5 separate regions of the Homo sapiens genome follow, and all the other regions are linked to region 3. The links are contacts of gene promoters, found by promoter capture Hi-C in blood cells and fetal thymus (Javierre and others, 2016). All regions are on one chromosome and are shown on one strand. Each heading gives the region's core, a stretch centred on a gene start or on the middle of the fragment in contact. The rest is flanking DNA. Distances are from core to core; before and after follow the strand shown.

Region 1 (2,700 bases), core at 64-2,563, 660 kb before region 3:
ACTTCCCCTTTTTCATCTGTAATGAGGAGGTTGACTACAAGGCCTTTAAAGATGCCCTGCTGGGTGATCCACTGAGGCTGTGGGCTCAGACATGGCCCTCATCACTGGAAAATGCAGGCTGCATGCCAGGCATGGTGGTTCATGCCTATACACTTTGGGAGGCTGAGGTAGGAGGACTGCTTGAGCCCAGGAGTTTGAGACTAGCCTGGGCAACACAGTGAGACCCTGTCTCTATAAAAAAATTAAAAATCAGCCAGGCATGGTGGGACATGCCTGTAGTCCCAGCTACTCAGTGGGGGTGGGTGGGGGTAATTACTTGCGCCCTGGGAGGTTGAGGCTGCAGTGAGCCGTGATCGCACCACTGCACTCAAGCCTAGGCAATAGAGCGAGACCCTGAAAAAAAAAAATCAAAGAAAGGAAGGAAAGAAAGGGGAAGGAAGGAAGGGAGGGAGGGAGGGAGGAAAGGAAGGAAAAATGCAGGCTACTGTGTCACTTTCCTCACAGGAAGTTTTCTCAGACCACAGAGGAGAATATTACAGACACCCAGGGCTAGAAGTCAAATCCCCCGATTTTGCCCAAGAATGGCAAATAATTTTCCACAATCAGCCAGTGCTGTAAAGATGAATGCCAGTCTGGCTTACCATCATGCACCAGTCACTGACGGACATCTCGTGGGACCTTTCAAAATAAGCATTCTTCTCCTGCTGTCCCAGCCACAGGTCATGTCCTTGAGTTTCACAAGTAGCCTCTTTGGCTTTCTCACACGTGGTGAAGAGTGGCAAACAGACTTTCTGTTCTCCAACTCACTTTTTTCTTCCCTAGCAGAGGAGATCCCACTGCTTATAGCTCAGGAAATTTAAGCCTCAACTGCAACAGTGGCTGGAAACCTTTTCTAGTAGCAGAATTTTATAACTCACAGAAAGAATTTGGTCTTAAGGTCCCTGCAATCAGTGTCAAGCCTGATTTCTGCAGTGCCACTCACTTCAATGCCAGGCATGTGGGATCAGACAGCAGGGAATTTGCTATCAAAAGAGCTGGGTCTGAATCCAGGTTCTGCCACTCCTAGGCTATGTGACTTTGAGCAAGTCTCTGACAGAGGCTTCTTCATTTGTAAAATGCGGAACAAGAACATCCCTCACAAGGCTTTTAAGTGAGGTGTAAAGGCACCAAAGGAAAGGGTTTGTCCAAGGTCAGCAGATAAAGACTAGGACCAAGTCTCTACATCTTGAGCTGATTTTCAACATCTTGCTTCCTTTTGGGTAAGAAAGCCACAAAGTTTGACTTTGTGTACCTTCCTCCCCTCCTCCTAAGAGGGCCCAGAAGAGAAGCTACTGACCTCTTGTAGGAGTAGCCCAAGATGATGCCAGCTCCGATGGCAATGATGATCACCATCATGGTAATGCCCAGCACGTAGCCTGCCAAGGATAGGACACAAGGTCCCATTAGCCACACCCTAGACAATCAGCAAATGACATCTCTTGATGAATCCCAACGAGGGCAGGGGTGGGGGACCGTCATACCCAGAGTTCCCAGGTCCTTTTTCTCCTTGGAGTTCATCCGCACCCGCTGGCTGATCCCAATCACTGGCTGCACAGCTGCCGCCTCACTCCGAGCGGGCAGGGCGTTGGCAGGAGCGAACACCTGCACCTCATCTGCACCTGGCCCTTCAGACGCTTCCTGGATTTCTGTCGTGAAGGCTGGCAGGGCCTGGGAGGTGGTCTCTGGAGATGAGGTGGGAAACAGCTCTCATCAGGGACTGCCCTGAGTGAATTCCACAGCTGAACCTGGCCTGAGTGTTAGGGTAGATGAAGGTGGGTCACCTAAGAATTTCCCCCCACACACAACCCAAAGTCAAATTCTGCCCCAGAGGTAAGATCAGGCCTGAGAGGGCTGAACCATCTCAGGGACAAGGCAAATGAGAGAGGAAGGCCGTAGGGAAGGGCTTCTCTCCTACCTCCCACGTCTTTATCTGTCCAAATCCTTGCTATTTCCCAAGGCCCCTCTCGGTTGCGTTCTTCTGCAGGGGATTCCCCCCACTTCTACTTCAGGAAACAACCCATGCTTCCTTTGAGCAGCTCACATCTAAGCGTACGCTCTGTGCCAGTCCTTAGGTAAAATGTTTTACTTTGTGCCGGGAGCGGTGGCTCACGCCTGTAATCCCAGCACTTTGGGAGGCCAGACGGTCGGATCACCTGAGGTCAGGAGTTAGAGAGCAGCCCGGCCAACATGGTGAAACCCCGTCTCTACTAAAAATACAAAAATTAGCTGGGCGTGGTGGTGCACGCCTGTTATCCCAGCTACTCAAGCGGCTGAGGCAGGAGAATCACTGTAACGCGGAAGGCGGAAGTTGCAGTGAGCCGAAATTGCGCCACTGCACTCCAGCCTGGGTGACAGAACGAGACTCCGTCTCAAAAAATAAAAAATAAAAAATAAATGCTTTATTTTGATTATCCCATTTAAACCTAGAAAACTCTCTTGCTGCTTTGGGAGCAAAAAGCCTGCGCTCTGGAATCTAAGAAACGTGAATTCAAATCTGTCCCCTGCCATTGCCTTTGGTAAATCGCTTAACTTCTCTGAAGCTCAGATGCCTCAAACGACTTCTTCCCGCGGTGTGTGTCAGGGGAGGTTGGGGAGCTGGGGTTGTGAGCAGTGTGGGTCTAGCACACTGCAGACGCTCCGCAAACGGTCAATAAACGCTGA
Region 2 (2,700 bases), core at 201-2,700, 600 kb before region 3:
TACGGACTGTGCCTAGCCAGTGGGGAACTCAAGGAATGAACTCCCAGAGAGCCGTCTCTTCACCTCTTATGTTTTCAGCATCCCCACACTATGCCAACAGGTGCCCCTGCTGTTTAACCAAGTCCAGGCACACCTGGCTGGCCAGCCCAGAGCAAGAGAGCCAGCATGTCTTCACCTGCTGGGTCCGTTAGGGGAGTTGTGGCTGTAGGGCTGGAGGAGGGGCCAGCAGGTCTGTGAGAGTGTATGTTGGGAGGGGCAGGGCAGGAGCGCATTTGTACACCAAGGGACAGTGATGTCAGTGTTATGACACAGACCAAGGACAAAACACACAAAGCCTCAAATGTTAGAATGAAAAATTTTATCATCACTCCTGTTCACCCCGCAGAGTCTGCGGAGTGCTAAAGGGCACACCAATAAGGATCCGAGGGAGGGGGTCTACATCTGCTTTTTCAGCCCCCAAAGCCATATATTGGGGTGGCCCAATATAAAGCTACTCATTAGTTTGGTTCCTGAGCAGACCTGCTAATAAACCTCAAAAACACAAAAGTCTACTTCACTAGCCAGAAATGAAAGCAGGATCTAGATCTGAGTGGGAAGGGCAGAGGGCAGCATGGGTTGACTCTAGTTGGAATTGTGCCAGTCTTCTCTGGAGGCCGACTCACTCGTGGAGTGGGGAAAGGGGTGGCCAGGCCCCAGTCTAGAAACCCCAGGCCTATGGGAAGTGATGCCAGGGGAAGGGAAGCAGATAAGCTGGTGGCTAGTTCCCAGGAAGGCACCAACCTCCAAAATCACCTAGGCAAGGACAGATGCCCAGGGGTGCCATCTGTGAAAGGGGGGAAAAGGCAAGAGAGCCCAGAAAGAAACTTGGATGCTATAGGGGGTTCCAGAAAGGTGCTCCTTGCTACCCCCATTTGGGGGCTCTGACATGGGAAAGACTCCGAGTCACCCAGGGAGGAGCTGGGCATGCTGGGCAGGAACCACCCTGCTAGCCTCTCCCAAAAGCAGGGGTCTCAGGCCAAATGCCCCTCCTGTTCCCTTCCACTGTCAACCCTCTCCAGGGAGGCCCAGGCTAGCCAACAGGCCACTGGGTAAAGGCCCTGCTGCCCTCTGGGGTGGTCCAGCCCTGCCTCAGATATCCCGGCGGGGCTGGGCAGAAGAGAGTGTTGCTGGAGTGTGCTGGGCCCAGGTTTTCAAGGGCTGGGAATGATTTTTTTAGAGAAAGGGAAAAGGCGGTGTCAGGAACCGAATGGGACGACCTCCACAAAGCAGGCTGGGCAAAGTCCCATGATGGCAGGTCGCTAGGAAGAGGTTCCAGGGGCGGCAGGCCGCTGCTGCTCCCAACCCACACCTGGAAAAAGGGCAGAGAGTGCAGGTTACCCCCCCAGGCCACCGGGCTTGCCCCCACTGCCCTCTGGGCTCCTCCTACTCTGCCCGGGCTAATCAGCACACTACCTGAGTCAGAATGTGCTCTGTGATGAGAGAATCAGAGACAGAGAGAGAGAAGGCAGCAAGGCAAAGACAGATCCCAGCAGGCCCACCCTGGGTCATCCTCCAGGGAGACTGCCTAGCCCAGCACCTGTGAACACCGTCCACGCCTGACCCCCAGGGGCTCTGCCCTACTTACGGCACATTCATCCCTCCCTGCTGGTCTCCCTGAACCCTCTCCCCTTGCCACCAACAGGATAAGGAGAAGCAGGTTATCCTATCAGAGACTGCAGTGCACACCCCACAATCATGGCTCGCCCTCACTTGATGGGAACTTGGCATGGGAGAGGGGAGATAACCAAGGAGAAGACAGAGGTGTGTTCGCTATCCACACAGGAAGGCTCAGTGGCCAGGAGAGGAAACTCAATCTTTTGGGTACCAGCAGGGCCCCCAGATATTGTTCAAGCAGGTAAACCAAGGGTGAGAATCTATCTGGTCCAGCGTTTCCTACCTGCTACTTTGCAAAGAGCTAAAAGAAGAAGAGCCCACTTTGCTCTCCAGTCCTCCAGAAACCCTGGCTTAGGATGGGTTAAACAGATGCCAGTGTGGGAGAGGGGACCACCCACTCCCTACCTCCTACCTCCCCCACTGCCTTGTGCCCTAAGCTGAGGGGACCCAGGAGGAGCTCTAACTGAGGTCAGAAAAGGGGAAGAGTGGTTGGCTGGACCACCAGGAGCCCTTTTAAAAAAACCTGCAGTCCCTACAAACTGCTGGAAACCAACAGTCAGGCCCAGCGCAGTGCCGGGTCTCCCAACACAACATCTGTGTGATACGGCCCACCATCCAAGGAGCCGGCAAACACCAGGAGAGGAAAGCCAAGCAACAGAGTGAAGGCAAAGACAGGGTGGGAACCAGGACCAAGCAACCAGGAAGGAGGAACGTCAGCTGTGGGGGAAGGGGGCCTGGGGGAAGAACAAAGGAGGAGAGCAGAGGGAGGGTGGAGGAACAGAGGGGAGGTGTGCAAAGCGGTGGGCGGTCAGCCGGGCCCCCGGCACACGCAGCGGCTGGCTCAAGGCTGCGACCGTGAGAACAGCATCATCTCCTTCAGCCCATCTCTGCCCTGACCCAGCCCCTACCTGACACTTGTGAGGCCGCTCAGAAGTGTGCACCTGCTTGATATGTCCGTTCAAGTGATCAGGCCTGGAAAAGAGAGAACCAAGAGGGACTTTAGAAACTTGGCCAGACCCCACCACACAGGCACATATGCATACGTGT
Region 3 (2,700 bases), core at 80-2,579:
AAGGATGAAGCCTCAAATCTTTGGCCTGGCATTTAAAAGACTCCGTAATCTTGTTTTACCCAACCTCACTTCCCATTCTTAGGCCTCTCTTCTCACCATCTCCCAGGTCACTGCCAAGCCTTTGCCAATGCTGTACCCCAGGCCTTAATCTTTTTCCTGACTCTCCTTCAAGATCCAGCTTATCCCTGTGGGCTGAGCATGCAGTAGATGCTCAATAAAATTCTCAGCGAGCCCAAGGCCCCCTCTCCTGCACTGCCCTTGGCGTGTTGAAATCAAGTGGGGGCCTTGTTTTAATCATCATTTTCCTAGCTTGTCGGGCAGCCCAGTCCAGGGCCTGGCACAAGGGACCCTCAGCATCCAATACCAGCCAGGATTGGGAGGGGCTCAGTGACCAGCCAGTTGGGCCACCCCAGCTCTTTGCCACAAGAGAAAGTTCAGCCTGGGTTTGGACTCAGATCCTGGCCCCACCACTTACAGGCTGCGTAACCCTGAGCAAGTCACTAACCTCGCTTTTCCTCAGGTTCCACGTTTTAAATATGGGGAGACCAGCTGTGCCCACTGTGGGCTGGGTAGTGAGGATTAAAGAGGAGGATGCTTGTACGGGACTAGCACTGGGCTGGCTCCTAATGTGTCCTGAATATTACTTGTCCCGCCCTGGCCACCCAGTCCCCTCCTCTGGTGGAAGGCACAGCCTGCCCAAGGCTACGTCTCAGGTTGGGTTCGATTGTGTGTGTCTGTGTAGCGGGGCTGTCCCCGAGGGTCGGACTCGATCCTGCCCGGACCAGTACAAGGTGTGGCCCAGCAGAACGCATGGACAGGCAGGGCTCGGGGCGGGCGGGACGGCTGGGGCGGGGCTGGGCGGACCCGCCCCTCGGGGCACGCGGTCTCCCGGCTTCTCCGCCAGTATGTTTGCTTGCTTTTGGGGCCCTTCTCAAGCCAGATCTCTAACGTGGATGGAGTGGCGCGTTTCAGGGTGGGGCTATGACAATGCACTGCCTGTGCAGCCGCCATCACCGCGCCCCCTCCACCGGCTCCGCAGTCTCCTGCCCGGCTTTCCCTTCTCCACCTCCATCTCTGCGGCGGTAAAATGCAGCACTCGCAGAGCGCCTGCGCGGCTTTCAGGCCGGGCGGCGGCGGCGGCGGTGGCTATTTATAGTAGGTGACGTCACCTTGAAATAGACCGTTAGGGCCGGCCCGCCCTTCCCCCCTCCCACTCCCGCCGCTCCCCGCCGCCCGGCCTGGCCACTCTCACTGCGCAGGCGTCGTCCCGTCCTCCCATCCCCCAGCGCGGCCGCGTCTCCTCCCTCGGCGTTGTCCGCGGCGCGAGCCACAGCGCGCGGGGCGAGCCAGCGAGAGGGCGCGAGCGGCGGCGCTGCCTGCAGCCTGCAGCCTGCAGCCTCCGGCCGGCCGGCGAGCCAGTGCGCGTGCGCGGCGGCGGCCTCCGCAGCGACCGGGGAGCGGACTGACCGGCGGGAGGGCTAGCGAGCCAGCGGTGTGAGGCGCGAGGCGAGGCCGAGCCGCGAGCGACATGGGGGACCGGGAGCAGCTGCTGCAGCGGGCGCGGCTGGCCGAGCAGGCGGAGCGCTACGACGACATGGCCTCCGCTATGAAGGCGGTGAGCGCGCCGGGAGCCCGGGCGGCTGGCCGGGGGGGGCCTGGCGTTGGGGAGGGACGGGGATGGCCGCGGGCGCGTTCCCCTCCCGGCCATGGGCGACCCGGCGACCCGGCTGGGCGTGGCCGCCCGCCCGCCCTTAGCCCGCGCTTCCCGCTCCCGCTGGGCGCCCCGCCACTTCCTGAGGCTGGGCCCAGGGTGGGGGATCCGGGAGGGTGCAGTTCGGGATCGCGAAGGCAGCCCCGGAAGGGGGGCGGGCCGGTCGGGGTCGCCACATCTTAGTTCGGAACCCGGCCGGGGGCAGAGGGTGCCCTAGGGGACGCGAAGGAGCCGCATTTCTCCTAGAGCGTTTCACCGGACCCGGGGGCTCCCCCTCTCGTCTTCCTCCGTTCCCCAACTTGGAATAAAGAATCACCTAGTAAGTGGCGCCCTGTCTCAGCTGGTTTTCTCTGCCACGACCTGAAGTCTGCAATTCCGATCTGTTTTGCTCTGCTCGTTCGAATTGTTCTGGTTCCATCTTCCCACGCCTGGGGGTCTGGCTTTGTGTGCGAAGACCCCTTTCCTGCAGTCTAGGCGTGGACGGGGGCGGGAGAGTGGGCGGAGGGTGTGGGGCCCCACTCCACAGCCCCAGGTTTGCTGCTGCGCTGTCTGCTTGGAGATTAAAATGAAACGTGACTTCTAGGTGAGACGAATCTGTGTGTCTTTGCATTCCTGAGACCCTCATAAATCGATTCTGCAGCTTCTCCGGTGGATGAGTCGTGCCCAGCCACACCCTAGCAAAATACCGTGGGTCACACACCACCTGCATTTCTGAGTTCCGGTTACCATCTCACTCTCTCTCCACGTTATTTTACGTTTTCTGTAAATGAATATTTCCTCTCCCTGCGTCAAGGTCACACAGTGGTAGAACAACTGCGACCACCAACCTATGTTCAGTGTACAACCTCCTGAGACCTGGGAGGATCCCCTTGAACTCCGCCTTAGACCTATACATTCAGAAATTCGGGCGGTGAGACTCAGACATCTGCATTGTAACCAGCTCTCACAGGCGATTTTTAGCTGGCTTAAGTCTGAGAATTACTGCCCAT
Region 4 (2,700 bases), core at 72-2,571, 970 kb before region 3:
TAGCCTCCATTTTACCCACAGTGTTAAAATGGCTGGGTATTGGGAACCTCAGGAAATTTTCCAGCTTCCTGATCTGGTGCCCCTAGTCACATAGGATGTGTGATCACGTGATAGCTACATCTGGACCAGAATCCCATGGCAATATCCCACGGTTTAAGGGCATAATATCTCCGTGGTGGTAGATTGTCAAGTCAAAAACGGGACATGTTCTAACAGCAAAGCTACCCAATATGAAACACAAAGCTACTTTTAGATTTTTTAAGACTTACTGATATTCCTGGGCCCTAAGAGCTTGTCTATGGTCCTATCTTTGCAAACTAGTATTTACACAAAATGAGCCACCTGGTTTTTTTAAAGTCAGTATTGTGTGTGTGTGTGTAAATATGACATGGAGAAAGCTTCTGTTACCTAGTAAGATAGTAAAGTATGTAAGACATGGCCCTTCCCCCAGTCTACATTGAGGTATAGTGTATTAAAGGATCTCAGGAGACTTGCAGCAAATTACTACTGCTTCTGTGCTTAAATTCAGAAGTCTGAAAAAAAAAAAAAAAGACTTCTAGTAAAGAGTTCCATTTTGCTGTTTAACCCTTTGTGTCCTAAGTTTAATCAAACACAGAAGGATATTTTTTTGCATCATTCCATCTAATGGAATGCAGAAACTGCTCTAGAGCAGTATAACCAGTGCTTCCTGATTGCCAGCAGATTGCCCTGGACACCCCAGAATAAACAGCATCTTCAAAATCCCCCTTTCTCATACCTTCTTATTAATGGTTGAATTAGTATGTCTCTGTCATCTGAGAGTCTTGCATCTTGACCATTACCTTTATTTTCTGTCAAGGGAATCCCTAGAAGATGTATGGGGAGACATAGGAAAGGAATGGAAGAAAGTTAATTCACCCCAAATTGGATAAATTCCATGACATTTAGCAATATACTTCTGTATCCCTAGAATTGTATCATAACTTTAGTTCAAGGACATTGCATCTCAGGTGGGTTAAGGAGGTTGGGAAGGGGAGAAAAGGGATGAGGAGATATTTTCTTGAGATTTATCTCCTTGAGATAATGCTTGAGAAGTCATCCAGCCATGGACTTCTTGGAGTAATACTTACAAAGAATTGGATGCATTTTGCATCCTTAGGCAAAAACCCCAGTGCTGTTACAACTGAAAATCATTAGCCTTGTTCTCTGATAGATACTTACAAGCCCAACTGCAGGCAATCAAAATTTATAGCAGATGAGTTCTAACTCCATCAACCTGTAATGTGGTCCATCTTAGGGAAAGAATAGGAAAACACCTTGGTTTACCACAGGCTTTGCTTACAGTTTCTGCTTTCTGTGACCTATTTTTTGTATTTCAGCATTTTGTGACCGACTTATTCTTAGATCATTGGTTTTCCAAAGGCTTTGTGGCCATGAAGCCCTTTGAGTGAAAACTGTGCAGAAGCCCAGAGTAAAAGTGAAGCTGCTCTGGATGAAGTAGTGAAGCAAGAGTAGGGGCCTGAATCCTGCTACAACTATCTTCCTTTACCACCGTGGTGACACCTAAGGGGACTTCCTTACAACACCTTGAACTCTTCCGAACACAGTTTGAAAACCACTGCCCCAGACAGCAATATGTTTGACCTGAATGGCATTCCAATCTTTTCTGTACCTCCACTCAGCACAGTTCATGTTCAGTAGATGCTGAACATTCTTAGAAATACTGTGTGTGAACTTAGAAAAGTGCAAGAAGACAGGCATGTCTTTGACCCCAGGAATGATCATTTGCTGAAGATGGTGTCAAGTGAACCTAGATTAACAGCCCTCCACTCCAGATGGATATCCAGTGATTCCTAGAATGGGATATAGCCAGAGAACAATTCTATGCACCCTACACTGACAGACTCCCTTAAGCAACACCAGATGCTCTACTGGTACTTGAAGTACATGACTTTGAAGTCTTGACCCTCCATGAATACCTGAATTATCAGCAAGCGGGTTTTGAAGCTGGTGCCTCATTGAGGCCATATTAGAGCAACTTGTACATTTGACCTCTTGTTATCAGCCATGGTACTCTACTTCGTGTGCAAGAGATAACTATGAAAGCCAAATTCAAATACTGGCAACATTTCCTAAAGGGGCTCAATATCTATCATTCGTCTTCTTTTCCAAACTACACATCACTGTATGACTCAACCAGTAGCAGTTATATTGCCCCTTGGTTTTTATTCAGTTTAACTACTGTTTCCAAGATAAATGAGCTAATAAGCTTTAAAAAAAAAAAAAAAAAAGGCTGAATTCTTTTTTCTTCATCACTGGCATATCTGCCTATTCTCCAGAATTATTATGACTATTCAGCTCACTTTAACAGTTGAACTTCAAGCGACAATCTTTGAACACCCCTTCTCATGTGATTTAAAATGAAACCATTTGGAAAAGTTTCTTCTAGCCAGTAATAGATTTTTTTTTTAATTGCTCTGCCTTGTGCCGAGAGATGTTCTTTTAAGATGAATCTTTTGATGTCTGATACCACCAAATATAGGTGGTAGGGAGAGTTGGAGGCTGGCCCTTTGAGCAGGCCATTAGCTTACTTGCTGGGCATTTCCGATAGCTTATTGCCTACCTTTTTGCTGGAAACAAACTGATTTGAAAAACAAAATCTATGAAGACTGCAGCTAAGGATTTTATCGGTAGACTTAAGAGCTTTTGTCCTTGTGGATA
Region 5 (2,700 bases), core at 159-2,658, 540 kb before region 3:
TTATTCTGCCGGTTTCAGAGGCAAATGAATATTGTCTAAGTGTACTGTAGTTTTATTTATATCCTGCACTGATACAAAATAGATTTACATGCGCTGGGTGCAGTGGCTCACCCTTGTAATTCCAGCACTTTGGGAGGCTGAGGCGGGAGGATTGCTTGAGGCCAGGAGTTCGGAACCAGCAAAGCCCTGTCTCTATGGGCTTAGAAATGAGGGGTCCCCATAGGTATGAAAGAAGATGTACCAAAAAAAAAAAAAGGCTGGGTGCGGTGGCTCACGCCTGTAATCCTAGCACTTTGGGAGGCCAAGGCGTGGATCACGAGATCAGGAGTTCAAGACCAGCTTGGCCAGCATGGTGAAACCCCATCTCTACTAAAAATACAAAAATTAGCTGGGCATGGTGGCGCATGCCTGTAATCCCAGCTATTTGAGAGGCTGAGGCAGGAGAATTGCTTGAATCGGGACCCAGGAGGCAGAGGTAGCAGTGAGTGAGATTGTACCACTGCACTCCAGCCTGGGCTACAGAGCTAGACTCTGTCTCAAAAAAAAAAAAAAAAAAAAAAAGTATCCTAGCATGGTGGTGCATGTTTGTGGTCTCAGCTACTTGGGAGGCTGAGTTGGGAGGACTGCTTGAACCCAGGAGGTTGAGGCTGCAGTGAGTTGTGATGGCACCACTGCACTCCATCCTGGGTGATAGAGCGAGATCTCATCTTAAGAAAACCAAAGTAGGGCCAGGCGCGGTGGCTCACTCCTGTAATCCCAGCACTTCGGGAGGCCGAAGTGGGCAGATCACAGGTCAGGAGTTCGAGACTAGCCTGACCAACATGGTGAAACCCCGTCTCTGCTAAAAATACAAAAATTAGCTGGGCATGGTAGCACGAACCTGTAATCCCAGCTACTCAGGAGGCCGAGGCAGGAGAATCGCTTGAACCTGGGAGGTGGAAGTTGCAGTGAGCCGAGATCATGCCACTGTACCCCAGCCTGGGTGACAGAGCTAGACTCTGTCTCAAGAAAAAAAAAGAAAAAACAAAACCAAAGTAGATTTATATTGGCTTACAGAAATGTAAACCTATATCATCAACAAGATTAAAAATAAGTAAAAAAATTGATGCAAAGGGAAAACGTAGGAAAAATAAGTCGAAGCCAAGCGAGATAAGATTTAGGACTAAAAGGAATGGCGTAAGATCTGTGCACCTGGTAGAGAAGGGCCACAGATTTGACTCTGAACTTGTTGGCAGCCATTGTAAAAAGAAAAAAGAAAAAAAGAAAACCCAGTCAGTCATACAATTTACAGAATTTGAAAGACAAAAAAACAAAAACAAAACTCTTTTTAATTAATTAATTTGTTTATTTTAGTTATAAAAGGGCAGCTCCTCCATAGGCAGAGCAGGGCTACACCATAGGTAGAGTAGCTAACAACTCTATTTTTGGATCATTTTTCATACATATATTTGGGCTGTACCTTTTTTTTTTTTTTTTTTTTCGAGACAGGGTCTTGCTCTGTTGCCCAGGCTGGAGTACAGTGGTGTGATCACAGCTCACTGCAGCCTCAACCTCCTGGGCTCAAGCGATCCTCCCACCTCAGCCTCTGAAGTAGCTGAGACCTACAGGCATATGCCACCATGCCTGGCTAATTTTTGTATTTTTTGTAGAGACAGGGTTTTGCCATGTTGCTCAGGCTTGACCTGAATTCTTGGACTCAAGAGATCCTCCTGCCTCAGCCTCTGGAATAGCAGGGACTATAGATGTGTGCCACTGTGCCTGACTTTTTTGAATACAGTTTTTTTATATCAAACACTGCATTGAATTTTGTGAATTGCTGTGCCCTCAAGTTTTGTGTGCTTTAGTTCTCCTTTAAAGGTAAACCATAAAAAGTTTGAGAAATAGTGCCTAGAGGGATAGGCAGTAAAAATGTGAAAGAAGTTATATGAGTCTTAACACTCTGGGGGATAACTCTCCTCTTTTTGGTATTCATTGATGTTTTAGGTTTTGATGTGGCCAAGACAGGTGATGCTCGAATTGGATTTGTTGGTTTTCCATCTGTGGGGAAGTCAACACTGCTTAGTAACCTGGCAGGGGTATATTCTGAGGTGGCAGCCTATGAATTCACTACTCTGACCACTGTGCCTGGTGTCATCAGATACAAAGGTGCCAAGATCCAGGTGAGTCAAGCCTGCAGACTAAGGAAGGAAAGAAATCTATTCTTCATTTAGGAAGAAGTTTATTGGGAGCTCACTGTATGCCAGGCCTGATCTTTGATCTACCAGGCACTTACTACCTGGTAGGGGAAATAGAGCAGTACGATAATAAAATGGGATAGCGCATGTGAAAATGCAGAGAAAGGGCCGGGCGCAGTGGCTCACGCCTGTAATCCCAGCACTTTGGGAAGCCAAGGCGGGCAGATCACCTGAGGTCGGGAGTTCGAGACCAGCCTGGCCAACATGGAGAAACCCCATCTCTACTAAAAATACAAAATTAGCCGGGTGTAGTGGCACATGCCTGTAATCCCAGCAACTCGGGAGGCTGAGGCTGGAGAATCGCTTGAACTACTTTTTCACCTGAGGGTGGGGGCTGGGACTACAGGTGAGCACCACCATGCCGGGCTAATTTTTTGTATTTTTAGTAGAAATGGGGTTTCACCATGCTGGTCAGGCTGGTCTCGAACTCCTGACCTTGTGATCCGCCCGCGTTGGCCTCCCAAAA

What was found. The method cuts DNA at HindIII sites, captures the fragments that hold promoters and counts their contacts. A CHiCAGO score of 5 or more calls a contact.
Region 1: a fragment that was not itself captured here is called in contact with the fragment with the promoter of YWHAH in region 3 in 1 of 17 cell types (fetal thymus); the score reaches 5.0 in fetal thymus.
Region 2: a fragment that was not itself captured here is called in contact with the fragment with the promoter of YWHAH in region 3 in 2 of 17 cell types (neutrophils and fetal thymus); the score reaches 5.9 in neutrophils.
Region 4: a contact is called between a fragment that was not itself captured here and the fragment with the promoter of YWHAH in region 3, in 1 of 17 cell types (neutrophils). The highest score is 6.5, in neutrophils.
Region 5: a fragment that was not itself captured here is called in contact with the fragment with the promoter of YWHAH in region 3 in 1 of 17 cell types (fetal thymus); the score reaches 8.0 in fetal thymus.

What each region holds. Positions count from the first base shown.
Region 1 is chr22:31,287,979-31,290,678 of GRCh38, forward strand. PIK3IP1 (phosphoinositide-3-kinase interacting protein 1) reads right to left here. Exons shown (of 6, transcript NM_052880.5): 4 at 1,521-1,721; 5 at 1,337-1,415. Among named protein-coding and RNA genes, the nearest start is that of PIK3IP1, 3.2 kb to the right of the region's middle. RefSeq lists enhancers at 1,306-1,355, 2,503-2,700. The HindIII fragment of the contact is 5,705 bases long and covers 1-2,700 here.
Region 2 is chr22:31,340,336-31,343,035 of GRCh38, forward strand. It overlaps PATZ1 (POZ/BTB and AT hook containing zinc finger 1), which reads right to left. Exons shown (of 5, transcript NM_014323.3): 2 at 2,562-2,625. Among named protein-coding and RNA genes, the nearest start is that of PATZ1, 4.7 kb to the right of the region's middle. RefSeq lists enhancers at 1-656, 2,332-2,700. The HindIII fragment of the contact is 3,977 bases long and covers 1-2,700 here.
Region 3 is chr22:31,943,206-31,945,905 of GRCh38, forward strand. It overlaps YWHAH (tyrosine 3-monooxygenase/tryptophan 5-monooxygenase activation protein eta), which reads left to right and starts at 1,330. Exons shown (of 2, transcript NM_003405.4): 1 at 1,330-1,615. The coding sequence starts at 1,529. YWHAH-AS1 (YWHAH antisense RNA 1) reads right to left here and starts at 2,161. Exons shown (of 3, transcript NR_171018.1): 1 at 2,028-2,161. LOC124900477 (a long non-coding RNA gene) reads left to right here and starts at 1,629. Exons shown (of 3, transcript XR_007068065.1): 1 at 1,629-2,030; 2 at 2,295-2,473. RefSeq lists enhancers at 1-649, 650-1,507, 2,251-2,300 and silencers at 771-920, 1,201-1,290, 1,301-1,520, 1,591-1,930. The HindIII fragment of the contact is 4,478 bases long and covers 1-2,700 here.
Region 4 is chr22:30,973,812-30,976,511 of GRCh38, forward strand. TUG1 (taurine up-regulated 1) reads left to right here. Exons shown (of 3, transcript NM_001396518.1): 3 at 1,359-2,700. Among named protein-coding and RNA genes, the nearest start is that of TUG1, 5.9 kb to the left of the region's middle. The HindIII fragment of the contact is 1,850 bases long and covers 397-2,246 here.
Region 5 is chr22:31,401,046-31,403,745 of GRCh38, forward strand. DRG1 (developmentally regulated GTP binding protein 1) reads left to right here. Exons shown (of 9, transcript NM_004147.4): 3 at 1,984-2,159. Among named protein-coding and RNA genes, the nearest start is that of DRG1, 2.8 kb to the left of the region's middle. The HindIII fragment of the contact is 3,534 bases long and covers 1-2,700 here.